Regions from separate parts of the Homo sapiens genome. Here regions 1 and 2 are each linked to region 3. The links are contacts of gene promoters, found by promoter capture Hi-C in human tissues and cell types (Jung and others, 2019). All regions are on one chromosome and are shown on one strand. The core of a region is centred on a gene start or on the middle of the fragment in contact, and the rest is flanking DNA. Distances in the headings are between cores, read along the strand shown. Region 1 overlaps BICRAL (BICRA like chromatin remodeling complex associated protein). Region 2 overlaps BICRAL (BICRA like chromatin remodeling complex associated protein). Region 3 holds the start of GUCA1B (guanylate cyclase activator 1B).

The links. The method cuts DNA at HindIII sites, captures the fragments that hold promoters and counts their contacts. A contact is called where the count stands out against the background at its distance.
Region 1: a contact is called between a fragment that was not itself captured here and the fragment with the promoter of GUCA1B in region 3, in 1 of the 25 tissues and cell types used here (spleen).
Region 2: a fragment that was not itself captured here is called in contact with the fragment with the promoter of GUCA1B in region 3 in 1 of the 25 tissues and cell types used here (bladder).

Annotation. Positions count from the first base shown.
Region 1 is chr6:42,811,808-42,815,056 of GRCh38, reverse strand. The region is part of intron 2 of BICRAL (BICRA like chromatin remodeling complex associated protein); the gene reads right to left. Among named protein-coding and RNA genes, the nearest start is that of BICRAL, 31 kb to the right of the region's middle. The HindIII fragment of the contact is 4,753 bases long and covers 1-3,249 here.
Region 2 is chr6:42,865,780-42,868,961 of GRCh38, reverse strand. It overlaps BICRAL (BICRA like chromatin remodeling complex associated protein), which reads right to left. Exons shown (of 13, transcript NM_001393499.1): 13 at 406-3,182. Among named protein-coding and RNA genes, the nearest start is that of RPL7L1, 12 kb to the left of the region's middle. The HindIII fragment of the contact is 8,715 bases long and covers 1-3,182 here.
Region 3 is chr6:42,193,350-42,196,979 of GRCh38, reverse strand. GUCA1B (guanylate cyclase activator 1B) reads left to right here and starts at 2,024. Exons shown (of 4, transcript NM_002098.6): 1 at 2,024-2,366. The coding sequence starts at 2,160. The HindIII fragment of the contact is 9,949 bases long and covers 1-3,630 here.

The DNA of each region.
Region 1 (3,249 bases), core at 286-2,785, 620 kb before region 3:
GTGCCTGTAATCCCAGCTACTATGGGGGCTGAGGCATGAGAATCTCTTGAACCAGGAGGTGGAAGTTGCAATGAGCTGAGATTGCACCACTGCACTCCAGCCTGGGTGATAGAGTGAGACCCTGTCTCAAAAAAAAAGAAAAAAAAAAGTAATAGAACAGGATTTCAAAGACTGCGCAAACTGAAATTTGGTATGTGGCCACTATTACAAATGTTTTTGTTTCCTCCTTTATCTGCTTATCTGTTCTTTTGCTTCTTTCAAAAATAATAGCCTAGTGGCTGAGGCAGGCGGATCACCTGAGGTCAGGAGTTCGAGACCAGCCTGGCCAACATGGTGAAACCCTGTTCTACTAAAAATACAAGAATTAGCCGACCATGGTGGCGCATGCCTGTAATCCCAGCTACTTGGGAGGCTAAGGCAGGAAGGAGAATCGCTTGAACCTGGGAGGCAGAGGCTGCAGTGAGCCAAGATCGTGCCACTGAACTCCAACCTGGGTAACAGACCAAGACTTCATCTAAAAAAAAAAAAAAAAAAAAATATATATATATATATATATACACACACACACACACACACATGCATGTATATGTATGTATACGTATATATACATATACATACATGTATGTGTATATATATGTATGTATACATGTGTGTTGTGTATATATATAATTTATATATATACATATACATATGTGTATGTATATAGCCTAGTGAAGATGGCTTGAACTCAGGGGGTTGAGACTACAGTCAGCTGAGATCACGCCACTGCACTCCAGCCTGGGTGACAAAGTGAGACCGTGTCTCAAAAAAAAAAAAAAAAACCCACCAAGAGCCAATACGAGATACCTTACCAAAAACTACTGACATTTGCTTTACTTGTAGTAAGTTGCTATAACATGAGTCATAACTTCCTAATAATTTACAAACAAATTTACCTCTAAAAGGTGCTGAGGTTAGCAAATTATTGAGAGACTTTAAGCAGACATGAACTACGGAATAGTTGCAGTCTTCAAAATCACATTTTTACCCCCGGACCTATTGAAGGTAAAATGAACTGCAGTCACTTTATTTTTACTGACATATTTACTACTTCTAGTGTTCTTCATTCTCTTAAGTAAATCCAGATTTCCATCTGGTATCATTTTCCTTCTCCTGAAAGGAATCCTTTAATATTTTTTGTAGTGCAGGTCTTTGCTGATTAATTCTTTCAGTTTTGATATATCTTTAAAGAGTGTGAGATGGGCACGGTGGCTCACGCCTGTAATCCTAGCACTTTGGGAGGCTGAAGTGGGTGGATTGCTTGAATCCAGGAGTTTGAGACCCTCCTGCGCAACATGGAAAAACCCCACCTCTACAAAAAATAAAAAAATTAGCTGGGCATGGTGGTGCGCACCTGTAATCCCAGCTGCTCAGGAGGCTGAGGTGGGAGGACCACCTGAGCCTGGGGAGGTTGAGGCTGCAGTGAGCCGTGATTGTGTGACTGCATTCCAGCCTGGGAGACAGACAGAGATTCTATCCCCACCCCCACAAAAAGTGTTTATCTTGCCTTCGTTTTTGAAATATATTTTCACTGGGCATATTGTTCAAGATTGATGAGTTTTTTTCCTTTCAGTTCTTTAAAGATACTGATGTACTATTTCTCATTTGCATTATTTCCAAAGAAAAGTCTGCCATCATTCTTACCTTTCTTTTTTTCATAATGTGTCATTTTTTCCTCTGGACACTTTAAATATTTTTCTCTTTACCACTGGTTTTAAGCAATCTGATTATGAAAAGCCTTGGTGTAGTTCTCTTCATGCTTCCAGTGGTTAGGGTTCACTAAGCTTCTAGAATCTGCAGGTTTATAGTTTCCCTCCAATTTAGAAAAATTTCAGTCATTAATTTTTTCAAATATTTTATGCCCCTCCCTCTTCTTTGGGGACTACAATTACATCATTAGACTATTTGAAGTGTCCCACAGCTCAATGATGCTGTATTTTCTTTCAGTCTTTTATTTTTTTAATTTAATTTACTAATTTTCTTGAGACAGGGTTTTGCTCTGCTGCCCAAGCAGCAGTGCAGTGGCAGGATCACAGCGGATTGCAGCCTCGACCTCCTGGGCTCAGGTGATCCTCCCACCTCAGCCTCTTGAGTAGCTGGGACCACAGGCACTTGCCATCATGCCCAGCTAATTTCTGTATTTTCTGTAGAGACAGGGTTTTACTATGTTGTCCAGGAGGCTGGTCCTGAACTCCTGGGCTCAAGCGATCCTCTTGCCTTGGCCTCCTAAAGTGCTGGGATTACAGGTGTGAGCCACCATGCCTGGCCTTTTTTAGTATTTTAATCTCTCCGGCTTTCATTTAGGATAGCTTCTATTCATATATCTTCAGATTCATAAATCTTTTCTTCTGCAGTCTCTAATCTTCTGTTAATCCCATCCAGTGCGCTTTTATTTTAAAACACTGTAGTTTTCATCTCCAGAAGTTCAATTTGGGTCTTTTTAAAATACTCCATGTCATTATTATTTAAAATTTTTTTTTGCTTTGTTGTCTTGGCCCAAGATGAGATTCCATGCCATTATTTGTTTAATCTTTCCACTATTTTCTTGAACTTATATAAGATAGTAACAACTTAAACAAATTTTTTTTGAAGAGGCAGGGTCTCACTGTGTTGCCCAGGGTGGTCTTGAACCCCTGGTCTCAAGTGATCCTCCTGCCTCAGCCTCCCAAAGTAATGGGATTACAGGCATGAGCTCCATGGCTAGCTAATTTTTGTATTTTTTGTAGATACAGGGTTTCACCATGTTGCCCAGGCTGGTCTCATACTCCTGGCCTCAAGCAATCCGCCACCTCCGCCACACAAAGTGTTAGGATTACAGGCATAAGCCACCTCATCTGGCCAACAAAAAAAATGATTAATTCTATCATTTGTATAATTTCTGCATCTCTTTCTATTGATTGATTTTGTTGTTGTGGTTGGTCCCAAATTTGCGTGCCTGGTCATTTTTTTATTGGATGTCAGACATTGTTAATTTTACATTATCAGGTGTTGGATATTTTTGAGCTTTGTCTAGGACACAGTTAAGTTACTTTACAAAGTTTCTTTACAAAATGTCTGATCCTTTTAAGGATTGCTTTTAAGCTTTGTCAATCTTTAGGATTCATTTTGCCCTATAGTGAGGCAATAAATACCCTTCTGAGTACTTCATCTGATATCCCATGAATTACAAGGGTTTTTGCACTCTTGCAGATGGGAACACAAACTATTCTC
Region 2 (3,182 bases), core at 670-3,169, 670 kb before region 3:
CAGTCAGCGGAGATTGTGTGCCACTGCACTCTAGCCTGGGGGACAGAGCAAGACTCCACCTCAAAATAAAATAAAATAAAATAAAATCTCCTGCAGAGTGAGGCTCACTTACCTGACTTTTCACATGACCCCCACTTTTCCTTCCATAGCTAAGGACCTATGTGGCAGGAGTAGGGATGGAGGCCAAAGGTGTACAGGACCAAACCTCCTCACTGACCAGCTTCATTAATTTGTAACTGTTTGGAAAGGCCAATCAATTAAAATCCTATCCCTTCCCTGACTGGGGTAAATTGATTTTGGTATTGGTAAATCTATTAAAATAGAATTCCCATTGAACACTTACCCTTTTCTTCTGGGAAAAGTAGCCATTCCTATTTGCAAAATCAAGACAATCACAGTTGCACATTTTCCCAAATCTTTGGCTGTATTGCAATGGTTGTTTCAATTTGTAATCTCCAACTAAACATTTCCTAACCATGGATTAACAATATAGTTACTGACTGGTTTCTTTTAACAGTATTTATCCAACATAACAAAATAAACTGCAATTTGTTATAGTTTTTTTTTTTTTACAAAACATTTTATAAATATTTTTACAAAATGTATACAAAGCAATTTCAAGTGAGACGTACTATACAAATGAAGGTATTTAAGCAAATAAAGCCCACACCACACTGACAGCGAGTGACGCGTCCTCTTTAAGTAAAGTCAGTCTGTAAGGCCTCCCTAATCTAACAGAATCTACTAAATCCTTCAGAGCTAAAATATTTCTTTTTCATAATTGCCAGATTAAAATTTTGCTTCATCTTCAGGAAGTACTTAAGGACACAGAAAATCAAATGCTTAATAACAAATTCACGCTTTTCCACAACAGAAAAAAAAAAAAAAAAAGAAAATGATTTTTGTTACTGAGTACAAATAGTTCTAAAACTTAACTTTGACGAATGAACCTGAACAACTGAATGTTGGCCATCCGAGGCTGAGCTCTCCTACCCTTCACTAGAGGGGGCTCGACATGCGAGTTATGACCCATGTGCGTAGAACCTAATCACAGGAGTGAAATACATGTCATAATCTTCATTTGTCATTATCTAGAATCCTTCCTCCATAAAAAGTAAACTTACATACAATGACACAAAAATTTACAAGTTTCATTTTGGTAAATTAGGCTCTCCATTTGCTAGACAAGTGTTAGGGCTTAAAAACCCTTTAGGATGGTATATAGAAAAGCTAGGATTGGGACAGCAGGGCAGGATAGGGAAGAAAGAGAGGTGACAAATGTACATGAAGCTTATCTTGTCTCTTGAGAATTCCACTGATTTGCAGTAATTAATGTAACTCACTAGCAGCCCACATGAAGGCTTCCAGGGATAAAGTTCTGCAATGAGAAGAATTTGATTAGGAAGGATCATCTTGCTAGGAATTAGGGGAGCATGAGCCCCAAGGGAAGAAAAGCCTATGAAATCATGGAGTTTAGGGCAGGGTGTTACCCTAGGACTACCCAAACAGAAAGTACCAACTGGCGACACCAACTTATCTAATATGTTACAATACAGGAAAAAGGGGAAATCTGCAACTTGGACATTGGCACAAATAAGGAAAAAATGGTAACCCTAAAATGGGCCAGATTTTCCAATTTGTATTGGCTGGGGCATGTGGCTGGGGTGAAGGTACGTTGCTATTATGAAGACTGGCCATCTCACAGGGTTTTCTGTGTGTAGTGGGACACAGGGGCACCGGGGTATAGGTCTTCTGTTGCTGTGTTTTCTAATTAGAAGCCTTCCTTTCCATCACAGGCCAATCTGGAAAAGAAATGCCCAACATGATGACAATGGGGGTCATCCCCATGTTGGCGACAGCCAGAAGCAGATTCTGGCAACACATTAAAGTGAAGACCAGTGGCTGCACCTCCAGAGCCAGGGAGATAAACAGAATAAATGAGAGAGTATGCACACTAAGAAGGAGAGTGAGTGTGCACACACTGTAACAAAAATGACCTCTGGATCCGAGCAGCTCAGATACATGCACGTGTGTGTATGTGTGGGAGAAGAGTGCATAAAAATACTATCATGTAGCTTTCCCAATGAGAGGAGATAAGTGATGGTTACAATGACATTAAGAATAAAGGTAACAACAGAAATGGGATAACCTGGGGCAGGTATACGAGAAAGGAAAACGGAGAATACTCCCTGACAAGAAATAAAAATAAATAAAGCAGTAAGCCATGCTCACTAATATGAACACAGGCCAAACAGAAACCATGACAGGGCATATCCTTTGGCTCTCAAATGGGAATCCCATGTCTCAGATCTTTCCTTTCAGTGGTGGGCTAGCTGGTTACCTTTGGTTTGTCTGTGTTTTGGTAATGAATTGCTGCCAGGGGTCACTACTGTTCTCAGACAAGAAGCATAAACAAGGCCAGAGTCTCCTTAAAGTTTAAACTGAAAAATTACAACATAATAATTTTCAAATGAAAGTGCTTTTGATGCTTGGTATTTGTTGTGGGAGAGGGTGCAAAGAGAGGTTAAATGAAACAAAATCCAGCAACAAACAAAAACATACATTATATGTTGACTATATCCAATTATAAAATGCAAAACTTGTTTTTTCTCAATAGTTAACATATATATGCTTTTACATATATACATATTAATATTATAACCCTCATGGCTCTATCCCGGCCTCCTCTGTACACTGTGCCTCTTAACTGGTTTCCATTTTCCTTTATTTAGCCTGGTGAAATTATTTCAAATTTTGCTGCTGTAACTAAGAACAGAACATTCCCTAGGTGAAATTCAACATAGATATGCCTAAAAGCATGAGGTTTTGCTCCGGAAGCATCAGAAAAGCACTTGAACCATCAATAGGGAAGCCCTGCAATGCCCTGCGTATGTGCTACTGGCTTTTCCACCAGGGCTGCGGGTCCCTGGCAGCACAGCCAGCAATTTACTGCTCAAAGATGGCTGAGGGGGAAGAACCATGTGGTCTTCCCCTCAACAATAACAACAAAACACACACAAAAAAACTCAAAATAATAATAATAAAAAAACCCAAAACTAAATTTGCAGATGCAGTGGGATATTCTTTAAAAAGTAGCTTCTATCCGTCTCGTTTGATTTTAGTAAGTCTGTTCTTTTCAAATGACTTATGATTGTCAAAATTTTACCAAGGGCCAAGTATAC
Region 3 (3,630 bases), core at 775-3,274:
CAGTCACTGAAATGACTGACATGATGCTTTGAGACAAGCAGGGAAGTCACCAGTGAATGACAGTAATGAGGAGAAGTAAATAGTGGCAAGGAGTCAGATGTGGCTTCAAAGGGACTGGCCTTTTTTGGGGAGAAAAAAGTAAAAGGCCATTTGGAGGCAAGAGTTAGAAGCGAGGAGGACACTAGCCCTGTTATCTAGACCTTGAGGTGTGTGTGGGGGAGAAAAACCCACCACCACTTGAAAGGATGACAGAAGAAATCACATTTCTCCTTCAGGAATAGCAAGAAAGTTAAAAGAGCTTTCAGAGCTCAGTGACGTCTGGAGGCAGAGAACAGTGAGAGAGGAGGTCAGGCCTGGAGATGTGCAAAACAATTCAGGCTGAACACCCAGTGAGGGATGGGTAGGTTAAGGATAGATTCACTGGAACTGCTGCCTCTGAAGTCTTCTAGAAAAATGAGTGTCACTGGGCGTGGTGGCTCATGCCTATAATCCCAGCACTTTGGGAGACCAAGGCGGGTGGATCACTTGAGGTCAGGAGTTTGAAACCAGCCTGGCCAACATGATGAAACCCCATCTCTACTAAAAATACAAAAATTAGCTGGCTGCTGGGTGCATCAAACCAACATGGCACATGTATACCTATGTAACAAACCTGTATGTTGTGCACATGTACCCTAGAACTTAAAGTATAATAAAAAAAAAAAAAAGAAGAAAAAATAGCTGGGTGTTGTGGTGTGCACCTGTAATCCCAGCTGCTCGGGAGGCTGAGGCATGAGAATCACTTGAACCCGGAGGCGGAAGTTGCAGTGAGCCGAGATCACACCACTGCACTCCAGCCTGGGCGACAGAGCGAGACCCTGTCTCAAAAAATAGAAATTTAAAAAAAAAAAGCAAAGAAAAAGAAAAATGTGTGTCCCTGGTCTTTTGATTTCTTGGAGGTGTCATTTTTATGTTACATTAAAATAAGCATGAATATGTAATTGTTCAAAAGCAAATTTTACATGACCTATAATGTAAAAGTAAGAGCCTTCAAAGATATTTTAGGCCATGCTCCCAGATCCTTCTCACATGTTAGTATTTTGGAGGAAATGTGAAAAAGGCACTACCCCTAGGTCTTGTGTGAAGGGTTGGAGGGAGGCATTTGTAGTTTAAATCAGAAAGTGAAAAGCTCCCAAGATGAAAGGTGTAATCTGGAAAGGAGCTTCAGGGACCGAGTTAGCCTGGGAAGAGAGTTGCTCACCTAGAGCCCTTCCCATCATAGATTCTGCCTCTTTTCACTAGACCGTCTGAGGGGCGAGTCCCAGATCACCAGCAGATTCTGTTTTATGGCCTAGGACTTGATCTCACTTCCTCTCTGGATTTGAGTCTCCTGTCTCCAAGATGGGCCTCCCTGAAGCAATGTGAGGCCCAGCTAAAGAGATAGGGAGTGAGTGAGATGGGAGGATCCCAGCCTAGCACCCCGACTCTTTCTTCACTCTGCATCTCTCTGCTTACCTCTCAGTTTCTTCCCCTTCTACCTCTTCAGAGTCTACCAGGGCCAGCTTGGTTGCTTTGTTGACAAGGCTAAGGGAAGGAGTGAGGCTGGAGGAGTTTAGGCTGGAGGTCAGAACTTCCTGGGGAATCTCTTTTTTTTTTTTTTTTTTTTTTTTTGAGACAGAGTCTCACTCTGTCCCCCAGGCTGGAGTGCAGTGGTGTGATCGCAGCTCACTGCAACCTCTATCTCCCAGGTTCAAGTGATTCTCCTGCCTCAGCCTCCTGAATAGCTGGGATTACAGGTACCCACCACCATGCCCAGCTAATTTTTTGTATTTTTAGTAGAGACAGGATTTCACCATGTTGGCCAGGCTGGTCTCGAACTCCTGACCTTGTGATCCACCCACCTCGGCCTCCCAAAGTGCTGGGATTACAGGCATGAGCCACCGCACCCGGCCACCTGGGGAATCTTCTAATAGTCTTAGGGCAGCTTAGCTGGCCTGGACCCACCTCCCTTGCCACCTGCCCCCTGCACCGACTGATCATGTTCAGTCACCCAGGAGATGATGGAGAGGCTGATCAGGCCTCCTGGAAAGGGAGGAAGAGGGCCCTAGTTGGAGAGATCCATCAGCAGAAGCCAGGGAGGAGATACAGACCCTTGCTCCCTGATGCTCCTCAGGGCTAGCATGGGGCAGGAGTTTAGCTGGGAGGAGGCGGAGGCAGCTGGCGAGATAGATGTGGCGGAGCTCCAGGAGTGGTACAAGAAGTTTGTGATGGAGTGCCCCAGCGGCACACTCTTTATGCATGAGTTTAAGCGCTTCTTCAAGGTCACAGACGATGAGGAGGCCTCCCAGTATGTAGAGGGCATGTTCCGAGCCTTCGACAAGAATGGGGTAAGGCACCCTGAAGGGAAGGACCAGTGGCCAGTCCACCTGGCGCCTTCCTCCACAAGTGTCCTCAGGGAGAGCTCCCAGTTCCCCACTCCTCGGCTCTTTCTCTGCTCTTCTTTCCACTCCGTCTCTCTTTACCTTTTCTGTCTCACTCACCAAACCCTTCTGTCTCTTCTCTTCCTTTTGTCCCTTTCCATCTTCTCTGTCTCTCCTTCCCTCCCTCCATCTCTTAGCTGTCGGCTGATGCTCCCTGTGTCCTCTTCTTGAGAGCTGAAGGGCGACTGGCAGACAGTCCAGGTCCTCTCTTTGTGTATTTTTGACCAAGACTCTGCAGCCCAATGACCGGGTTTTCGCATCTGCCAGAGCCCCTGTCACTCTAAACACTAGGAGCAAAAGAGATGTTCTAAATGAGACAAGGTATCTTAGCATGGGCTATGAGCTCCCTCTTGTTGGGGTTCTTCTGAGACTGGTCAGATCCTCCCTGTCAAGAATGCTGGAAGAGGCTCCTGCATGTATTGGGAGACTGGGCGAATGACTGCAAAAGCCCCTTTCAGCTCTTCAAGTCCTGGAAGGTTTCATTAAATCATTCAGACTAGAGTTTCTCTAAGCCCACAATGTCACTAGCAGCTAAGAAGATAACACATCTTGTAAATGCACCAGGGGATTGAATTTTAAATTTCAATTCAGTTAAAAACCCCTTGATTATTTAAGGTTATCCAGTTCAGTGCCCTGGCAATCCTCAAATACCTCAAATACCTCAAATGCCCTGGTATTTGCCTCAAATACCAATTTAATCTGAAGAAAGTGTCAGTTCTCCATTCCTCAGTGCGTGGAGAACTTAGCTTTCTAAGCTGAATCACTGGGAATGCCACTTCAGGTCTCATCCTGTCGCTGGTACCAGTCAGTGCACGTCCCCACAGTGCCTGTCCCGGGACAGGAGGGTGAGGTCAGCACCTTCAATTCAACAGAACCTCCTTAGAGATGAACCCCATCGACCACCCCACAGGGCACAGAGCCAGTTTCGGACTTCTCAGCGCTCCGCCTCTCTTAGGTCTCCTCTGAATCAGCAGCAACCCTGGGTGGGAGGGGCAGACTTTTGTTATTCCAAATTAAATGATGAGAAAGCTGGGCAAAAGGGAATGAATCGATTTGCCCAAGGTCTTAAGTGCTCCTGCCTAGAAGGCAGGTTTTTTAAAGAGAGAAGATGACTTTTTAAAATAATTGATGTTTTTTTAAAATGTAAGAAAAGTAAACAAATATATCAGGT